2 separate regions of the Homo sapiens genome follow, and region 1 is linked to region 2. The links are contacts of gene promoters, found by promoter capture Hi-C in blood cells and fetal thymus (Javierre and others, 2016). All regions are on one chromosome and are shown on one strand. The core of a region is centred on a gene start or on the middle of the fragment in contact, and the rest is flanking DNA. Distances in the headings are between cores, read along the strand shown. Region 1 holds the start of ATXN1L (ataxin 1 like). Region 2 overlaps ZNF19 (zinc finger protein 19).

What was found. Contacts are between HindIII fragments. The CHiCAGO score rates a contact against its expected background, and 5 or more counts as called.
Region 1: the fragment with the promoter of ATXN1L here is called in contact with a fragment that was not itself captured in region 2 in 1 of 17 cell types (non-activated CD4 T cells); the score reaches 5.5 in non-activated CD4 T cells.

The regions. Positions count from the first base shown.
Region 1 is chr16:71,842,538-71,848,011 of GRCh38, reverse strand. It overlaps ATXN1L (ataxin 1 like), which reads right to left and starts at 2,036. Exons shown (of 3, transcript NM_001137675.4): 1 at 1,908-2,036; 2 at 1-2. RefSeq lists enhancers at 1,549-1,618, 1,420-2,191, 2,409-2,458, 2,192-2,964 and a silencer at 1,839-2,148. The HindIII fragment of the contact is 5,556 bases long and covers 1,494-5,474 here.
Region 2 is chr16:71,483,259-71,488,272 of GRCh38, reverse strand. ZNF19 (zinc finger protein 19) reads left to right here. Exons shown (of 6, transcript NM_006961.4): 2 at 3,525-3,684. Among named protein-coding and RNA genes, the nearest start is that of ZNF19, 3.6 kb to the left of the region's middle. RefSeq lists a silencer at 3,649-3,928 and an enhancer at 3,496-4,405. The HindIII fragment of the contact is 3,354 bases long and covers 718-4,071 here.

The DNA of each region.
Region 1 (5,474 bases), core at 787-3,286, 360 kb before region 2:
GCCTAGAAGATAGAAACAGGAATGGAGTAAGCGGCTGCCTGACCTCTAATTCTCCCCAGGGTCACCATGAAAGGTAATTCCAAAGCATTAGAGTATACACGTCCTTGCCTCATCTTCTTCTCCACAGGTAAACAGTACATTTACCCAGAGTGCCCAGGCAGTTGAACAGAGAGAAAAACACCTCTAATGCTCCAACTTGTAAGAAGACATCCCTGAAAAAAAATTTCCATGTATCAAATTTCATTGGTTTTCCGTAACATCATTTCCCTAACATCTACCTGTGCCTGTTCCCCAAAGGTTAAATTTGCTCCAATCCAAATTTCAGATAAACGCACAAATAAAAATGGAAGCTTTAACACTGTTCCCATATGAACAATGGGAAGCAGGAAAAATCAACTCTATGGATTTCCCCTTTATTCTGGGCCTATGAAAACATAAATGTGGAGTTATTTAAATGAAAAAAAGCAGCAGTAGATGAAAAAGAACAATTATTTATGTTTCTGGGGCAGAAAAAGAGGTCAGGGGGGAGTCACTCAAGGAGAAGACTTATTAAGAGATTTTCAGGGTTAAAAAAAAATGAGCATATGTGTGTGTGTATGTAAAATTTTCTGAGTGACAGTATACCAAGTGCTGAATCAGGTATGAAAGAAACTGAAAATATTGCCTTGGTCCTCAGCTGGCTAACACTGGTGAAACAAAACTACCACTAAACCATCACTATGTGAATCTACACTTGCCAGAAACGCAAAGCGAGAAAGAATGGAGCCTTAACCTCTGAAAACAGAGAAGGCAGTACAGATGAGTGAGTGCTCTGAGAAACTGACTATCCTGTCCAAGTCCTATAGAACACTCTAAGCCTCAACCCAAACCGAATGCAACATTTCTCTCTTAAGATTGGCAAGGTGCAGGTGTACACAAAAGGTGGAAGGATAGGAAAACACAGTGGGAAAACAAATTCCTAATTCCACAAACACATATTATTACACAGTGGCATAAATAATGACTCTTTTCTCCACCAGCAGCTTTAATAACTGAAAAGCAGCTTGCTTTCTTCTTCATTCCCAACAGAAACTGGGGTCACACTTCAATCCCAAAATGATCCTTGCTTTCTGTAACGAAAACTTTAAAGAAAACCTGCCTCCAGGTCACCGAGAAGTTAGCAAACACAGGCTAGTAAAGGGACCGAAAGAGGCAAAAGGTCTGCAGAAAGGAAAACAAAGAGCCAAGCCTGTGCGCCAGGTTCCCACAACGCAAAACACACTTAAGAATCCGAAACCTCCGCCTCTCGAGAACCTCACTGAGCATCTCAAAGGGAAAACGCAGCTTGTGACCCCAACCGAGCTAACAGGCTGTTCAGGAGAGTTGCCAACGCTGCTAGCAGAGCCCGGAACCAAGCTCCTCATCACGCTTGGGTCGGAATCAAGGGGCTGAACCCAGCTGGAGACCCAAATTCTCTGCGGGCGAGAGGTGCGCCCGACAGAAAGGGAGAAGCTTGTCAGAGACTACGGTTATGGCTCCCAGTGGTCCCGCAATCCTTGATCCAACAAGGGTAGGGCTCGAAATTGGGAATTCTGCGTTTAGAGAGTAGGGGGTCCACCCTTCACCAAGGGGGCAGGGGCGAGGCCCTGCAGGCGACGCTTCCTTGTTTGGGGGCCCTTCCCGCCCCACAGACTCGGACACCTTGGCTCGCAGGCACACAGCCTCCGGGGCGCCGGGGCCTGAGGCCACCTTCCAGGACAGGCCAGAGAGAAGCGCGAGGGGGTCTAGGTGCGGCCTCTCCCCTCCGTCTGTCCACGGTTCATGGGCCCCGGCCCGCCGGAGCAACGGGCTCCTGAGGGCCACTTCCTCCGGAGCACCGACCCCAGGCCTGCCTGGCCCCGGCGGCCACCACTTCCAGGGACACTCACCAGCCCATTTCACAGCGCTTCCCAGGATCCACTCACTCGTCCCGGAGCCGCCGCAACCGCGGCCGCCGCCATCCCCGGCCCCGGAGCCGCCCCACACCCAGCGCCCCCCACAGCCGGGCGCCCGGAGATGGCGTCAAGCTCGTCCCGCCCCCGGCGCGGAGAGATTGCGTCACGGCCGGGGTGGGAGAGCAACGCCCAGGACTCCCCGGGAAGGGAGGGTGCCACACTGCCTTCGCGTCGGGCGTTCCCTCTGGTGGGTGAACAAACTCCTCTCCCTGGGACCGGGTCACGTGAATAGGGCTGGGCCCGGCCCCCTCAGCCTGACCCCACAATGACCCCGCAATCTTTCCACCTCAGTAAATTTTGGGGGTTCCCAAACAGAGCCCCGGGGCGTGGTCATCGGCGACCCCCCATTTCCTGGACTTCTTGTCCTGACTTGTGCAGCCCCTTCTGGGGAACTTCGGGGGACCCCGAGGTGACCTAGGCTCAGGAGAAAAGGAGATACCTCTTACCTCTTGGGGACCCAGGTGGAGATAGGAAGTCTTCTTTTTTTCTTTTCTTTCTTTTTTTTGGAGACAGTTTCGCTCTTGTTGCCCAGGCTAGAGTGCAATGGCACGATCTCGGCTCACCCAACCTCCGCCTGCCAGGTTCAAGCAATTCTCCTATCTCAGCCTCCCGAGTAGCTGGGATTACAGGCATGCGCCACCACACCTGGCTAATTTTTTGTATTTTTAGTAGAGACAGGGTTTCTCCTTGCTGGTCAGGCTGGTCTCGAACTCCCGACCTCAGGTGATCCCCACACCTCGGCCTGCCAAAGTGCTGGGATTACAGGCGTGAGCCACCGTGCCAGGTCAATAGGAGCTCTGTAAGTGTTGAGAAGTGGCCCCCGAGGGAGCTAAGAGTGAACCCCACTCAGGATCTAGGGGAAGGTGACAAGGAGTGGAACACCTGAAAGTTTAGAGAGAGCCCGGGGTTTAGTACAGTGAGAAGCAGCTTGGTTTAGTGGAAAGAGGGCTTGACTACTCAGTGAAATATTATTCATTACAAATTAACTAATTATTCATTACAAATTAACTGGTCAACTTCATAGTAACATGAACATCTGATTAACTTAAGTGAAGACAAAAGTGAGCGCCAGTTGAATTTATGTTTGAATAACAACTGTGTTTTTGTTGTTGTTTGTTTTAAAGTATTAGGTTGGTGCAAAAGTAATTGCGGTTTTGGCCACCGAAATGGAGACTTTCAGTTTCTTCAAACTCTGTTCAATAAATAACAATTGGGCCAGGCGCGGTGGCTCACGCCTGCAATCCCAGCACTTTGGGAGGCCAAGGCCGGCGGATCACGAGGTCAGGAGATCGCAGACCATCCTGGCTAACACGGCGAAACCCCGTCTCTACTAAAAATACAGAAAATTAGCCGGGCATGGTGGCGGGCACCTGTACTCCCAGCTACTCGGGAGGCTGAAGCAGGAGAATGGCATGAACCCGGGAGGCAGAGCTTGCAGTGAGCCGAGATCGTGCCACTGCACTCCAGCCTGGGCAATAGAGTGAGACTCCGTCTTAAAAAAAAAAAAAGAAAAAAAAAGATATGTCATTGCAGTTGCGTGTATGTGTGTGTGTGTGTGTACATATAATTTTTTTTTTTTTTTAGCCCTGTCGCCCAGGTTAGAGTGCAGTGGTGCCATCTTAGCTCACTGCAGCCTCAAATTCCTGTGCTCAAGCAGTCCTCCCACCTCAGCCTCTGGGGTAGGTGCGATGATAGGCATGCACTACCATGCCCAGCTAATTTTTTAAAATTTCTTGCAGAGACAAGGTCTTGCTATGTTGCCCAGGCTGGTCTTAGACTCCTGTGCTCAAGTGATCTTCCCTCCTCGGCCTCCCAAAGTGCTGACATTTCAGTCATGAGCCAACCACACCCAGCGTCGGTTGTATGTATTTCTGTGTATCTGTACAGAAAAGGAGTAGAACACATAACTAATTAACATTGGTTATTTTTGGGAAGGAAAGTGGAATTGGGTGGTGGTCAAAAGGCAAAGAAACAACTTATATTATTGTTTGAATATTTAGGAGAATATTATCTTAGAAATAAAAAAAGTAAGTTGAGATCCAGATACAATGCATGATCTCTAAGATTCTTTCTAGGGAAGCCTTAGATCTCAATTATATTTTCTCACCTGGATGGACACATAGGGCCATAAAAAATTATCAAGTACCACACAGACACACACACAGACACACACACACACGCACACATACACACAGCACAAATGGGAAAAAACATAGTGAAGTTACTGCTGTCATCTAAATCATCTGAGTGTTTTGCTTCATTAATATTAATATTGTTCATGACAGTCTCCTTCTCTCTCAGTTTGGCCAAGAAGGAAGTCCTGTGGTCACTCAGTGTGTCCGTTTTAGCACTAACTAGCATTCTGGTTTCTAGTTCATTTCTTAGCTCACTAAACTGGCATTAAAATAGTCAAGATAGGAACCCTTGGACTATCCAAGCATATTCAAGGATAGCTAGTTTCTCCCAGATCAAGATATACACTCAGAGCTGGGTTTTCTGTACAAATTTGAAAGAGTAGACACAGGTAGATGTAAGCAAAAAAAAAGTTTTATGGCTACCAACCATTAACATAATGATGTACATGATACAAAAGCATGTCCATTAAAAAGTAAAAACAGGATGTTCTGATTGGTGAAACACAGGTGATTTCCGGGTTTGGCACTGCAGTCCCAAAAGGGTGGGTCATATGTCCGCTGTATCCCATTCCCAAACTCTTTACTACTCTGAGTAATCTTTTTTTCTTTGGTTGTATATCCTGATGGTAGAAAGCTCCATAGCAACAGTTTGACAGGTATATTAGTGATAAGTAAACTAATAAAGTTTTTAGATTTATGGCACAAAAATAACCAAAAGTTACCTAATTTATCCAAATATCTGTATTATTTTTCTGGAATCTGGGTAACACCCCTATTTAAGCTATTTATATTCAGTAAACCAGGCCGGGTGTGGTGGCTCACGCCTGTAATCCCAGCACTTTGGGAGGCCAAAGCAGGTGAATCACCTGAGGTCAGGAGTTCAAGACTAGCCTGGCCAGCTTGGTGAAACCCCATCTGTACTAAAAATACAAAAATTAGTTGGGCATGGTGGCCTGTGCCTATAATTCCAGCTACATGAGAGGCTGAGGCAGGATAATCACTTGAACCCAGGCGGCAAAGGTTGCAGTGAGCCGAGATCGTGCCACTGCACTCCAGCCTGGGCAACAAAGTGAGACTCTGTCTCAAAAACACAAACAAACAAAAACTGATAAAGTAAATGTTTTTTTGTTTTTGATGTGTTTTAGGTATTTGGGGTATTTGGAAAATGATAAGTTAAACTTCAATCTGTTTTGTCCACTTCTTCCCTTTCCCTGGATTCCTACTGAATTCCATTGTTGTGTATAGATTGAATTTTTGTGATGGAAGAGCTTGAGCTGCTCTGTTGGAAGGAAAACAAAAATAAAACCCTGTTAATGCTGGTTATTTTTCTCCCTGAGCAGTCAGGAGTTGCAAACTAGCTCTCTGT
Region 2 (5,014 bases), core at 1,145-3,644:
TTCTCATGTCTCAGCCTCCTGAGTAGCTGGGATTACAGGCACACACCACCACACCTGGCTCATTTTTATATTTTTAGTAGAGATGCGATTTCTCCATGTTGGCCAGGCTGGTCTTGAACTCCTGGCCTCAAGCAATCCATCCACCTTGGCCTCCCAAAGTGCTGGGATTACAGGTGTGAGCCACTGTGTCTGACCTATGTGCCTTTTATTTCTTTTTCTGGCCTTGCTCTTGCTAAGACTCCCAATATGATGTTAAATAGTAGTGGTAAGAGCAGACATACCTGCCATGTTCCCAATCTTGGAGGGAAAGACATTCTGTCTTTCATCATTAAGTATGTTTGCAGCTGCAAGGAGAGAATAATATTGAATTATATGTCAGTATAGATACTGCAGCACAATATTTAGCTTAACTACATATTTTTTTGCAGCCAAGGCAAAAATGACTTTGTGCATGAAACTTAAGTTCCACCACAGCCTCAGCCTATTTGTGGCTGGGATTTTCAGACATATGGGAGAGAAGTTAGTATTTTCAAGTCAGGATTAAGTAACAGTAAATATGCCATGATCATACACCATACTCTGGGTATCATGATCTGATATTACTTATAGCTTCAGTTAAAGATACTGTAGGAGTTAGAGGGAGAGCTGGATAGTTAGGCTGTGAGGTGACCAGAAAGAAAGGTGGTTCCCATTGGAATCTAAGGAATGGTCAAAGCTTGAAAGTAATTATGTTTGATGGTAGAGATTGTGACAGACATGAGTATGAGTATTGTATTAGTCCGTTGTCACAGTGCTATACAGATATACCTGAGACTGGGTAATTTATGGAGAAAAGAGGTTTAATTGGCTAACAGTTCCACAGGCTGTACAGGAGGCATGGCTGGGGAGGCCTCAGGATACTTACAATCATGGTGGAAAGCAAAGGGGAAGCAGGCACAATCTTCACATGGCCAGCAGGAGAGAGACAGCAAAGGAGGAAGCGCAACACACTTCGAAACAACCAGATCACATGAGAACTCACTATCACGAGAACAGCAAGGGGGAAATCCGCCCCCATGATCCAATCACCTTCCACCATGTTCCTCCCCCAACACTGAAGATCATAATTCAACATGAGATTTGCCTGGGGACACAGAGCCAAAACATATCAAGTATACATTTCCTTAGAGGTGATACATTGGCTGGGAAGACAGGTCAGTGTGAATTAGCTATTATTATTAATGATCTTGAAAACTCTCTGGGAGACTTTCCAGACAAATGAGAGTGGAAATTTTCTTCCTTTCCACTCCCTGCAAAACAAAAATAAGTTATTCCCAACTCTTTTTGTTTTTAATTTTAGTGTTCCCATCTTCTGGCCAAGAATATACTCAACTCTTCACCAAGTAAACATACGGGTTCCCATGTTTCTAAAAACCGATAAAATTAACAATAGAGACTTGTTTTTGTTTTATATCCAGACTTAATGGTCATTTATGTAATGTAAATATCCAGAATAGGCAAATCTATAAAGAAAGTGGTTGTCTAGAATTGGGGGAAGAAGAGAGGTATGTACATGTGTGTCTATTAATTTTCTATTGCTGCTGTAACAAATTGCCATGAGTAGTGGCGTAAAACAACACTAATTTATCTTAGAGTTTTGGAGGTCAGAAATCCAAAATGGGTCCCACTGGTATAAATTCAGGATTTAGACTAAGGAGAGAATCTGTTTCCTTGCCTTTTTCATCTTCTGGAGGCCACCCACTTTCCTTGACCCTTGGCCCCTTCCTCCATCTTCAAAGCCAGTGAGGTTGGGCCAAGTCCTTCTTGTGCTGTCATTTTTGTGATTCTCTTTCAATTCCCTCTTTCACGTTCAAGAACTCTTATGATTACACTGGGCCCACCTGAATAATCCAAGATAATCATCTTTTTTTTTTTGACAGGGTCTCGCTTTGTTGCCCAGGCTGGAGTGCAGTGGCTCAATCAAGGCTCACTGCAGCCTTGACCTCCCAGGCTCAAGTGATCCTCCCAACTCAGCTAGTAGCTGGGACTACAGGCGTGTGCCCACACCTGGCCAATTTTTGTTCCTTTTTGGAATTTTTTTTTTTTTTTTTTCGGTAGAGACAGGGTTTTGTCATGTTGCCCAGGCTGGTTTGAACTCCCAGGCTCAAGTGATCTGCCCACCTGGGCCTCCCACAGTGCTGGGATTACAGATGTGAGCCACTGTGCCTAGCCCCAAGATAATCTTAAAGTTGGCTGACTAGCAATCTTAATTCCACCTGCAACCTCAATTTCCCTTTGTCATGTAACTTAATGTACTCACAGGTTCTAGAGATTAGGACATATACATCTTTGAGGGGAACAAAACACCATTCTGCTTACCAGAGGGAAAATGGAGAGTGACTGCTGATGGTTATGAGGTTCCTTTGGGGAGATGAAAATGTCCTGAAACTGATTGTGGTGATGTTTGCGCAAGTCTCTGAACACACTAAAACCTATTTAATTTTATACTCTGCATTGATGAATTGTATGGTGTGTGAATTAAATGTTAATAAGGCAGGTGTGTGTGTGTGTGTTCAGTATTTTTGAAACTAAATTCTTTCACCTTCTTGCCTGAAACCAGCTCCTCTTCTTCAATTCCTGATCTCAGCTAATGGCACCTTCATCTATCAGGTCATCCAAAATTCATGGCTATTATAGATTGCTCTGGCTGCCTTGTATTCAGTCATTAAAAAAAAAAATGTCCACCGTTTTCACTTCCTAAATAGTTACTTAATATATCCCTCCTTAGACCTGGTCTTTCTTTCTTTTTGTTTTTTTTTGTTTTTTTGGTTTTTTTTTTTTTTGAGATGGAGTTTTGCTTTTGTCGCCCAGGCTGGAGTGCAATGGCACAATCTCGGCTCACTGCAACCTCCACCTCTCGGGTTCAAGCAATTCTCCTGCCTCAGCCTCCCGAGTAGCTGGGATTACAGGTGCCCGCCATTACGCCTGGCTAATTTTTGTATTTTTAGTAGAGACGAGGTTTCACCACGTTGACCAGGCTGGTCTCGAACTCCTGACCTCAGGTGATCTGCCCGCCTTGGCCTCCGAAAGTGCTGGGATTACAGGCGTGAGCCACCGCGCCTGGCCTGCTGACCTGGTCTTTCTTAACGTGTCTGGGTCTTTACCTCTAAGGAGGACAGCTTTTTTGTGCAAAGACCCTTTGGCAGTCTGGTGACACCTTCAAAACCAATGAACATACAATTAAACAGTTTTTTAGAATTTGTGATACAGAAATATAAGTGCAGCTTTACCAACGTGATGAAATGTAATGACAAGACTTGAGGTGGGCCCGATAACAACAAGGACAATTTCAAATTAGTGACGAGAATAGCCATATTCTGAGATCTGCATCAACTGTAATGTGATATGAAAATATCTGTGATTTCTATCGGTGACAGTCACAGATACGGCTGATACTACAGTAGTTTGTTGCCAACATAGAAGAAAATGCTAAATTTCGGTTAGAGATTAGCGAAAACAATGATATACTTTCTTTCCTATTCAAGGTCTCTGAGGATCCCCGGGTGGAAACTCCTCCCGGGAGTAAAACCACACAACCACTGAGAAGACCGCTCCGGCATCCTAGAGAGTACGCGTGTGAGCCTGGGTGCAAGGCCAAAGTAGTGACGCACTTCCGTTCACGCACCGCTTTCTGTTTTTCCTGAGGTGAGTGTTGGGGTTTGTCGCCTAGGAGTCCTTGCTAGGCTCAGGCACTGCACCTCTAGAGAAGGCTGTCGGCTTCGTCCCTGCTGCCTCAGTGGAGGGAGACAGGGCGGCCCCTCCGGGACCGGGGAGCGGAGGCTGCTCGCGGGCCGGTCCCGGTCTCCCTCTGGTGCCTTCGCTCCCCCACGCCTGCATCGGCGCCTTGGGAAATGGAGGCTGTGGATATGGGCGGCTGGATGGAAGGGACGCCTCTGTTCTCGACGCCGCCCAAACCCCATCTGCTCATTGGGCCACAGCTGCTTACTGAGCAGCTATGTGCCAGTTCCTGCTCTAGATTCCGGGGATGCAGCGGTGAATGAGGCGGGGCGTGGGCCCCGCCCCCAGGAAGCTTTCCGCCCAATGGGAAAGTCATGTATTAATCAAATCTGGTTATTTCACTCCACCTGCCCGTGACTTAGTGCACGTAGATCGAAGACCAAGTTCTTGACGTGCACAAAGTGTGGCTTTGTCCCTTGTGACTTCTTCAGCATCATCTAACAGCACACTCTCCTTTGACTGCTACTACAGTGTTCTTGATCCTTCACTACTAGAACATGGCTTTTGCGTATGCTGTTACTTTTGTAAAGATTTCCTTCATACCTTAGTTAATTTATTTTCTTAAGCTTCCCATCCACGTTAGTTTCCCCTGGCAGTGATTTAAATTGTGGACTTAAAAGTTATTTGAGAGAATCTTGATTAATGTGTCTTTCCTTTAGACTAAGCTCTGCGAGGGACAGGATCATGCCCCTTCTCTCTCTACTTCATCTGTTGTGTGTCACACGTGGCCTTGCATGAAATATGTATGAGATAAATATTTGTTGAATGAAGAAAGCACAAATCAATATATAATTTCAAACTGGATTAAGTGGTATATAGGAAAAGGAGTACGGTGCGAGTGGAGTGTTTAACAGAGACACCTGACCTGGTCTGTAGAGCGATCATGATCTGAAGGTGAAGGGTGGATAGATTACTGGAGAGAATGGCGGCTAGATTACTGGAGAGAATGGCAGGCAGAGAATCTCAGTTGTAATGGTTCTGAGATTGGAGAAGAGTAGTTCATACAGAAGAAACAGCAGGTATGAAGGTCCTGAGTTAGCACAGAGGAAACTGAAAGAAGGCCATTGTAGCTAAACTAAGAGAAAAGAGGGTGGCGGCACAAGATGAGGCTCGCAGAAAACAGCATCATGCATTAAGTCCCTGTAGGGAAGATGCTGGCTTTTTATAGAATATTGCTGTTTAACTAGAATACAAAGTGTCTGTAAGAGATGATATAGTTAAAACAATAACCCAGATG